Regions from separate parts of the Homo sapiens genome. Here region 1 is linked to region 2. Evidence: promoter capture Hi-C in 16 types of primary human blood cells and fetal thymus (Javierre and others, 2016). All regions are on one chromosome and are shown on one strand. The core of a region is centred on a gene start or on the middle of the fragment in contact, and the rest is flanking DNA. Distances in the headings are between cores, read along the strand shown. Region 1 overlaps ERBB3 (erb-b2 receptor tyrosine kinase 3). Region 2 holds the start of SMARCC2 (SWI/SNF related BAF chromatin remodeling complex subunit C2).

Evidence for each region. Contacts are between HindIII fragments. The CHiCAGO score rates a contact against its expected background, and 5 or more counts as called.
Region 1: a fragment that was not itself captured here is called in contact with the fragment with the promoter of SMARCC2 in region 2 in 1 of 17 cell types (M2 macrophages); the score reaches 6.8 in M2 macrophages.

What each region holds. Positions count from the first base shown.
Region 1 is chr12:56,081,204-56,086,199 of GRCh38, reverse strand. ERBB3 (erb-b2 receptor tyrosine kinase 3) reads right to left here. Exons shown (of 28, transcript NM_001982.4): 2 at 2,298-2,449; 3 at 1,019-1,205. Among named protein-coding and RNA genes, the nearest start is that of ERBB3, 3.5 kb to the right of the region's middle. The HindIII fragment of the contact is 4,298 bases long and covers 1-3,928 here.
Region 2 is chr12:56,186,494-56,191,525 of GRCh38, reverse strand. SMARCC2 (SWI/SNF related BAF chromatin remodeling complex subunit C2) reads left to right here and starts at 2,043. Exons shown (of 29, transcript NM_001330288.2): 1 at 2,043-2,175; 2 at 4,220-4,339. The coding sequence starts at 2,065. It overlaps TRS-CGA4-1 (tRNA-Ser (anticodon CGA) 4-1), which reads right to left and starts at 1,162; the gene lies at 1,081-1,162. It overlaps LOC107984468 (a long non-coding RNA gene), which reads right to left and starts at 834. Exons shown (of 2, transcript XR_007063330.1): 1 at 300-834. RefSeq lists an enhancer at 1,397-1,496 and silencers at 1,737-2,016, 2,087-2,306. The HindIII fragment of the contact is 5,408 bases long and covers 1-3,987 here.

The DNA of each region.
Region 1 (4,996 bases), core at 530-3,029, 110 kb after region 2:
ATGGACAGGTGGTTTTTAACCCCTATATTCCTCCAGCTCATAGGGGTTTGGTTTAGGAGAGTAAAGGTAGAATTCCTAGGGAAGGAGGGACATCCAGGTATACTGTACTTTGGTTTTTTTTTTTTTTTTTTTTTTTGGAGTCTCGCTCTGTCGCCCAGGCTGGAGTGCAGTGGTGCAATCTTGGCTCACTGCAAGCTCCGCCTCCCGGGTTCACGCCATTCTCCTGCCTCAGCCTCCCGAGTAGCTCGGACTACAGGCGCCCGCCACCACACCTGGCTAATTTTTTGTATTTTTAGTAGAGACGGGGTTTCACCGTGTTAGCCAGGATGGTCTCGATCTCCTGACCTTGTGATCCACCTGCCTTGGCCTCCCAAAGTGCTGGGATTACAGGCGTGAGCCACCGCGCCCAGGCTTTTTTTTTTTTTTTTTTTTTTTTTTGAGACGGAGTCTCACTGTCACTTACGCTAGAGTGCAGTGGTGCAATCTCAGCTCACTGCAACCTCCACCTCCCAGGTTCAAGCGAGTCTCCTGCCTCAGCCTCATGAACAGCTGGGATTACAGGTGCGCACCACTATAGCCAGCTAATTTTTTATTTTATTTTATTTTTTTGTATTTTTAGTAGAGACAGGGTTTCGCCATGTTGGCCAGGCTGGTCTCAAACTCCTGATCTCAAGTGATCTGCCCTCCTTGGCCTCCCAAAATGCTGGGATTACAGGTGTAAGCCATCAGGCCTGGCCTCCGGTACACTGTACTTTGAAATTAGAAAAACGGTTAACAGATCCAGCTCTGACTCCAGCCCCACAAGGACACAGGGTTCCTTTCCCTGGAGCAGATGCCCCTAGCTCCCCCTACTGGGGGCCCTCTATTGCTTAGGGAGCAATGGACCTTTAGACAGCGGCCAAGGTGACAGGCACCTTGGAAGAGGCACTTAGAGTGAGCAGTCTTGGGTCATCATCAAGGAGGTACCAGTCTTGGGCTGGCTGAGGGGTGAGGCCAGAAGGAACCATCGGGAACTGACCGGTGAGCTGAGTCAAGCGGAGCTGGCGCAGAGCGTGGCTGGAGTTGGTGTTATAGTTCAACATGACGAAGATGGCAAACTTCCCATCGTAGACCTGGGTCCCTCGCACCACGCGGAGGTTGGGCAATGGTAGAGTAGAGAATTCATTCATGGCCACGAGGACATAGCCTGTCACTTCTCGAATCCACTGTGACAGAGCAGATTATGTAAATGAGAGAGACAACAGGGCAAAATAATCTCAATCTCCTCTCCTCCTTCAGGCATTAAAGACTCTTTAACTGTTTTAATTCTTCCTTCTTTCTTTCCTTTCTTTTTTTCTTTTTTTTAAAATTTGAGACGGAGTTACGCTCTTGTTGCCCAGGCTGGAGTACAATAGTGCGATCTTGGCTCACCACAACCTCCACCTCCCGGGTTCAAGCAATTCTCCTGCCGCAGCCTCCCAAGTAGCTGGGATTACAGGCATGTGCCACTACACCTGGCTAATTTTGTATTTTTAGTAGAGATGTGGTTTTTCCATGTTGGTCAGGCTGGTCTCGAACTCCTGACCTCAGGTGATCCGAGCTTGGCCTTTTTTTTTTTTTTTGGTGAGACAGGGTCTCGCTCTGTTACGAGTGGCACAATCTCGCTCACTGCAGCGTCAAACTCCTGGGCTCAAGCAATCCTCCCACCTCAGCCCTCCAAGTAGCTGGGACTACAGGTGCATGCCACCATACCCAGCTAATTTTTGTATTTTTGTAGAGACAGCGTTTCACCACATTGCCCAGGCTGGTCTTGAACTCCTGACCTCAAGTGATCTGCCTTCCTTGGCCTCCCAAAGTGCTGGGATTACAGGCATGAGCCACTGCACCTGGCCTTAACTCTTGCTAATTCCTATTTGGGAGTAGGGAGTAGACTGTGTCACACTGCTGTGTCACTTCTGGGAGTGAAGACAGGCAGCTTTCTCCTCAAAGTGCCTCATACCAGTAGGGCCCCTTCCTCATCTCCCCAGGTAACCTCTTGGTCCTCAGGTTTCTCTCTGCACTAGTCCCTGCTGACCTTGCACTATCCACAGAACACCACCTGCCCCTGACCCTGCCCCCTATATATCCCTGGCTACAACAGTGAGACCATAGGTCCCAGATGACAGCCACTGTCCCCATAAATACACGGTTTTGAATCTTAGGAACTCCTGAGTCTTAGGAAGGGTGAACTCCAGCAGAAGGTAGCCCTGAAGAAGGAAGGAGGGTTCTAGGGGAGAATAAAGAGGAGCAGGTTGAGGAAGGAGGGTGGGCTCACTAACCTGCAGGAAGGAGAGGTCGGCATTGTGTCCCGTGAGCACAATCTCAAGGTTCCCCATCACCACCTCACACCTCTCGTAGAGCTTGTACAGTGTCTGGTATTGGTTCTCAGCATCGCCGGTCACACTCAGGCCATTCAGAGTCCCAGGACACACTGTTCAAAGCAGAGGGAAGAGTGGCTGAGGGCTGGACACAAATTCTCAGCCCATCTGCCATCCCCAAAGATCACCCCCTTGGTTGCCCTCTTCCAGTTACATTAGACAGGATCAGATGGCATTTGCCTCCAACCCTCCCACAAGCGATAGGCAGAAGCTGTAGTGGCCTGAGAGCTTTCTCTCTTCTCAGAATCCCCTTACCATTCCATGAATGGGAAGGTGAAAAGATTTCCTTTTTCAACCTGGGACCCCTCTGTGCTTCTTTTGGGTACTAAGGGGTTAACTGAGAAGGAAGACAGGGAATTTGTTTCTCTCCCTAGAAAAGAGAAGTTAGGAAAAGGCCGCAACTTTGATTACCCTCCTCTCCCCCTCCAACTAGGGCACTCACTTCTCTACCCTCATCCTGCCTCTCTCTAGGTCCTGGAATAAATATCTCTTTGGGACTAGTACACAGCCCCTATTGTGTCTACTGAGGGTGGGATGGGGGCAGAGGGTGGGGGCAGTGCCTGGGGCCACAGTCCAGCCCACAATGAGGCGATTCTATCCAGGAGGGGGGCTGCCCCACCCTGTCCCTAGACACCCCGTCCTCAGCAGCACTCCCCTCCACCCTCAAGCCTTGGGCTCAGACAAGTGACCTCAGTAGAGGGGGGAGCTCTGGCAGTGCTGGGGTGAGGGGGGGTCAATGGGAGCTTTGTCTTTAAAGCTGAAAGATAAGGAGCTAGTTGCCTCCCCGCCTTCCTAAACTCAGGGTTTCCTTCTCACTCTCTCCCCCATCCCAACACACTCTAGCAACCTCAGCATCACTTTCCAGCCCTAGAGTATTTTTCAGCAAATACAGAGGAACCTGGAGAGAGATAGTAGCAGATGCCCCATATTGAGCCTCCACACAATTTCATTGTTAGAAGAGGTTCATGAAAAAGCCTTTCACCATGGCAATCCTCACCCACACTAGGGGAGAGCCTAGACTAGAGGTACATGGCATGTCAGCCTTGGGAGTTCACTCTTCTTTGCAAATGTGGTGGACAACGGGCTATGGGAAGTCCTGGACTCTGAAGCCCTACCCCAGTCTCTTTCCTCTGGTTCAGGGAAAGACCATGTGTGGGGTGGGGAGTAGGGGGTAGATACCACCTGTTCCAGCCACCCTTCCCTGAGGCGGTGGTAGCTCAGTGGGAGGCAACAGTGGGAATGGAGGGAGGGAGACTGGTGAGGCCCCAATCCCTCCTATAACATACACCCCTAGTCTGACTTCTTGACCTTGGAGGGCTCCTTATCACTCCCCATGAAGGTTGGCTAGTCCCAGCAAAGAGAGCTAGTTCCAGAGGAGCTGGGAACTCCAGGGTCCTTGGGTTGAAATGAAAGAGACTAGGAAGGTTAGTCATTTCTGGAACAGCCCCACCCCAATCCCCTTCCTGGCAGGATACCCCCTTTCCCAAGTTATAGTGCCAACACTTCTCCCCAGATAAGGGAGGAGCCAAGCTTTCTGCACAGGGAAGTAGTAGTGTGGGCACACACATACACACACAATGTACACACGAACACGTACACATTGGTCCTGCTGGCTCAGGAATCTATAGTTGGGTTTCCTTGCAGGAAGTATTTCAGGTGGCCCCATCTATCCCACGTGCCCATAAGTGTTTGTGCAGACTTTGTGTCTGTGCTTGGAAGGCTACAGTGTTAGAGGTAGCCCAGTTCCCTGCTACCCTGAGGGTAAAGTCCATATTACACAAACAGGGGGCAAAGGGCCTGGGCAGGAAGGGAGCACAAACAACACCTCTGGGGAGGAGCTAGGCAGCTTGGGGAGCAGGGCAGGGGAAGGGAATCATAAAAATCCCTGCTGTACCCAGGAACCGGGAGCATAGGGAGGGGCAGTGTCACAGGCCCTCCTTTGGTAGAGAGCACTAGGGGTGGGATAGAGCCAGAATCTCCAGCCCCTCCTCAACCAGAGGCCTCCCCTCCAACATCCCCCACCCCCATCACAGCCAGGACAAAGGGGCTATAGAAGGACTGAGACAGGGCCGGATGCCCAGAGGCTGCAGGACCCAGATAAAGGGTAAAGAGACCCAACCATGCCTGCCTCCTGCCTCCCCAGGGAGGGTGGCCAGACTCTGGTACTCCTGGGTTTCTGGGTGAAGATTGCAGGAGTCTGGATGGGACAGTTATACAGTCACTCCACTGCTCCCTCCCACGCCAGTCCCCAGACCACCCCCCTCCACCAGCTGGGAGTGTTCACATCTAAAAATCCCAGGATCTAAATTTAGGCCCAGCAACTGTGAGGGAAGCACAGGTGGTTTCTTCCACTCCCACACTGGGGAAGGGGCCCTGGCTGTGCCAAACCCCAAGCTGAGATCTGAGGGGAGGGGAGGAGATCCACAGAACTTCAGTCCTCAGGTGTCCACGGTCCCAGAGACACCCCAAAGGGGTGGGCTCAGATAGCATGGGAGTCGGGGGAGGACTGGAGAAGAGCAATCCGGGGCTCTGTCTAGGGTCCTAGAGACAGTGTCAGACAATAAGCAAAATGGGGGCGGGAGGCACAAGCTGAGCCCAGG
Region 2 (5,032 bases), core at 794-3,293:
GGAGTTTGAGGTTGCAGTGAACTGAGATCGCACCAATGCACTCCAGCCTGGGCGACAGAGCGGGACCCTGTCACAAAAACAACCCCCCAAAACAAACAACAAAATCCTCAACAAGCAGCCTAGATCCTCCCCACAATCAGAAATTAGGGGATAGGAAAAATGGGGTGAGATGAGTATAGGAGGGTTAAAGGTTAAAGATGAGATTAATTTCCTTGCTTGGTTAATACACATAGATAATTTAAAACAGTATCTGGCACATAATAAGCACTCAATAAAAAGTGAGAATTATCTTCCCATACCTTGGCTCTAACTGGATCTGCAATGATGTTTCAATAGACTACTCCCTTCTAGCCCTGTACACCTCAAGGAAATCCAGATGAGAGAATCCTGTTTCCTGGGTCTTCGGTGTAATCAGACCTACAAGGTGTGACTTCTGGTCATGAAATTTAGAGGAAACTCTAAGTTTGACTAATATTGCAAAACAGCCACTCACATTCCCAAAATGTAACCCTTCAACCAAATCCTTCCCTATGCCCTCAAAAGAATGAGACATGTGCCAAAGCTCTCCCAGGAAGCCTGAAGTTACAAAATTCTGAAAATGCCTCACAGTCTAGCAGCCAATACAGTCGTGCATAATTAAACTTCCCAAGATCACTCCCATCCTCCCAAATCCAGGGGTTAAGACCTTTTGGCGGCTTCCCTTTTGGAGAGAGAAAGTGCACGAAAGAAACGTGTGAGAACTGGGGTTACCTTTATGTGCTGTGAAAGGGGTTAAAAAAGTCGACGCCTGTAATCCCAGCATTTTGGGAGGCCGAGGCGGGCAGATAACCTGAGGTCAGGAGTTTGAGACCAGCCTGGCCAATATGGTGAACCTGTCTCTACTAAAAATACAAAAATTAGCCAGGTATGGTGACGCATGCCTGTGGTCCCAGCTACTCGGGAAGCTAAGGCAGGAGAATTGCTTGAACCCGGGAAGCGGAGGTTGCGGTGAGCCGAGATCGCGCCACTGCACTCCAGCCTGAGCAACAGAGCGAGACTCCCTTTTAATAATAAGAAGAAGAAAGAAAAAAAAAAAAAACCCGTCACGAACAGGATTCGAACCTGTGCGGGGAAACCCCATTGGATTTCGAGTCCAACGCCTTAACCACTCGGCCACCGTGACTTCCAAAACCGCGCTTTATCGCGCGCTTACAGAAGGGGTCCGCACTGCAATCCGGGAATGCGTGCGGGAACCGGAAGCAGGGTACCGGCCCCGACACACACACACCTGAGGACTCCCCACCCCTCGGTTCCTTACCTCCTATCTACGCCACCCAAAGAAAAAGAGTCGGATGGACTGGGTGACCCAGGGAGGGAGGGTCTCCTGCCTAGCGAAGAGTCGGGGTCTCGAGTAGGAGCTCACACCTACTTAGGAGGCGACAGCGAGGCCTGCGGAGGAAGCAGTTGAGGGAAGGCACTGGGCCGCCAGGGTGGCGACTAGGGGACATTTGGGTTAACAAGTGAGGGGAGTGCTGGGTGGACAAGGCGCGAGGAGTGAGGGAGACTCTGAAAAGTTTAAATGGGGAGCTGCTGTGAATGGATGGAAGGAAGGAACTTCTTGGGGAAAGGGGTTTGGGGTTTTGGGGGACGAGGGGCTTCGTCGGGTTAGGAATGCGCAAGGTGAGGACCACTCGGGTCTACGGGTTGGGGCTGCTCCAGCGACTGGCGGCCGCCTGGAGTGGGATAGCGAGGTGACACTCCCGAGCTGAGGCAAAAAGAGGGAAAGGGCTTCGCGTCTGGTAAGAGCGATCTCAGGAGAATGGCGCCCCCTCCAGGAAGCGTCCTTCTCCCCGGAGGCTCCCGCCTCCGCTGCCGGGGAGGCCGCCAGGGTCGGCCCGCGCCTGGAGCTCCGCCGCCGCGCCCGGCCTGCCGGCAGGGGGCGCAGCGCGGACCGGGGCCGGCCCAGGCGGCGGGAGGCGGCGGCCGCGGCGGCGGGAGGCGGCGGGAGGCGGGCGGAGGAGGAGGCGGAGGAGGCGGGAGCTGAGCTGAGTGGGGCGGGCGGCGGCGGGGCCCGAGCCGGAGAAGATGGCGGTGCGGAAGAAGGACGGCGGCCCCAACGTGAAGTACTACGAGGCCGCGGACACCGTGACCCAGTTCGACAACGTGCGGCTGTGGCTCGGCAAGAACTACAAGAAGGTACGCGGGCCGGGCCGGGCCGCGCGGGGACCGGGGGCGGGACAAAGGGACCGCGGCCCTGCAGCCCCGGGATCCTGCCTACCCTCCAGGCGCCCCAGCCCCTCCCCCGCGGCCTCCCAAGCAGCCCCCCGCGCGCCCTCCTGCGCTCCCGCGCCCCTCCCCCAGCCTCCCTCTCCCCGCACCCCCAGCCTCTGAGCCCAGCCCCCGCCCCCACTGCTGCGCCCTCTGCCCCTTGTTTTTCTCTACTGCCCGGCGGGCCCCGGTGCCATTAGCCCACCTTCCCCTCAGCCATCGCCCTCCTGGCTTTTCTGGGAGAGGCGGCCGGCCGGGTGTGGACCGGGTGCCCAATGGGCTCCCCCGCAACCCGGAGCGTGCCCGCCAGAGCTCCCCACGGAGCCAGGTACCAGCGGGGCTGAGGCCTCTCCGGTGCTTTGTGTATGTTCAGAGAGAGAGAATGGAAAGCAGGAGGGTAAACAGTCACAGAGCAAGCCGTTGGCTGCTCATCAGCCTGAAAAAGGTCTCCACCCAGGGATCACCTGTCTCCGCCGCTCATCCCCCACCTTCATCTAAGGGGCAACAGAATCTCTCAGGGAGCCGGGGTATAGGAGTTCCTGGGTAGCGGCCCCTTCCGAAACCTTTCCTCGATTTTACAATGAAGTCACCTTGCAACCTAGCTTTGCAGTACCCTGGGTTTGGGGTCGAGAGGTTAGGGTGAGCTTCCTATCTCTAGCCCCTCACACCCAAACCCCATAACTGGAGATCATAAGGTGGTGAACAAAAGGTTCAAGAATCCTTACCTGTCTTTTCTACCAAACCTCTTCCTGGTGTCGTCTTTGTCTCTAGGCCTGGTTTTCTCTGGAAATGGTCTGCCTCTCTTTTTCTCACTACCCTCAGAGAGGGATTCTCTTTATGGCTTTCTTTCAGCTCCCCAGTTCTTCCTGCCGGCTTTGCAGCTCGTCAGAAGTGTGCTTAGTGGCTTAGGAGAACTTCCTACTGATGCTGGTTGTGAGCCTGGCCCTGCCCTTGGGGTCTCTCTGGGTGTGAGAATCCTGACAAATAGCTGCTATTTCTATGGCATGTCTCTACGCCTGTGAGAGGCTCTTATTCCCAGGCTTCTACCTTTGACCTTTTGCAGGGAGATCAGGCTAGGGGCTTAGCCTCCGGCCTTGGGGGAATTGACAGTTGTGACCTGGTTCAGCTTCCATGCTCTTAGCTCTTTGTCATTTACCTTTCCCTTCACAGATCTATCTCTTTTCACCTCTCACTGAGAGGCACTGTCTTCTTTGTGATGAGTGGGGAGAAAACGGGTCAAAAAGTAAAAAGAAAGTCTCCTGGCTCAGGTTCAAATTAGAATGGAAGGCTAGGATGCTACTAGGTAGCAGAGTGTGGAAACATAGAAGTAGGGCCAGGGTTACTTGTCTCAGATACAGTTTCCTCGGACAGGGTAGATGTTGTCTTGCTCTTCTCCATCAGGCTGGGTAGTGGATGGCCCTTCCTGTCTAGGAGGGCCTATGAAGACATTTATACCCAGTCTTCAGAAGCAAAATGCACAAGCTCACTCAGTCAACTTGCCCTCCTTCACTTCCTTGTACCTTTTCTTGTTAGGCTACATTATAGGGGGAATCATGGCTTTACAGAGTTCCCCTAAGAAATGTCTCTCTTAGAGCCCCAGAGGTATTGCTTCCATGACCTGAACTTTATAAACCTCCAGAATTTTACAACCCTCAGTGCTGTTGGTTAAAGATGAGGTGCCAAGATAATAGGGTCCTGCAACTCCAATTTCAGAGTATAACTGAGGAAGAGTAGTAAGCTTCCCTGTTCCCCCCAACACTGGCCACCTGGGCTGGTGGCAGCAGAATTTCAGCTTCCTGGTTGGGGTGTCCAGGGCCTCCCTTTTGCCATTTTCTTTATAGAGACTAAATGGGGAGAAGGGCACTATTTTCTTTGCTCCACATGCTTCCAGAGCCCCTGGGGGAGAAATATGGGAGATAGTGGACAATTTATCTGAGATCTATTTTTCTTTCCTTTCCCTCTTTTTCCTTAGTATATACAAGCTGAACCACCCACCAACAAGTCCCTGTCTAGCCTGGTTGTACAGTTGCTACAATTTCAGGAAGAAGTTTTTGGCAAACATGTCAGCAATGCACCGCTCACTAAACTGCCGGTGAGTGCAGAAGTAGCAGGGAGGGTGGGGGGTGGTGGTGGTGAATCCTTCAAACTGAAGAGTTGTATTTTAAAAAAAGATTTGTGAATTTTGTAATTTTTGAAATTTGGGTTATTTTCCACCATCCCTATCCCTGATCAGGGCATTATTGGCTTGGCCTAGTCTCCAGTTTACCATTCTTTTTGTCTTAGTAATATTTTGTGCAACAAATTATTTCAGAGTACCTGGGATCAGTCCACAGGTCTCTCATGGCATGGTTAAAAGGGGACTTGAGATTTGGATTTGTGCAGGCTTGTGTTCAAATCCTGGCTTTGCCATTGGATGGCTCTGTGATCTTGGGCAACATTCATGAGTCTTGGTTCCTTCATCTCTAGATGGGATTAGTAAACCTACCTTGTAGAGTTTCCTTAATGGTACCTGAGGTAATCCAGTAAAGTGTTAGCACAAGGTGGTGCTTTCTGTGTGTTGGTTTCTTTCACTCCCCTCTTCCAGGCCACATGATGCAATGGCACAAGGGTTAAAGAATTTCAGCTTTGAGGCCGGGCGTGGTGGCTCACGCCTGTAATCTCAGCACTTTGGGAGGCCGAGGCGGGCAGATCACCTGAGGTCTGGAGTTGGAGACCAGCCTGACCAACATGGAGAAACCCCGTCTCTACTAAAAATACAAAATTAGCCGGGTGTGGTGGCTCATGC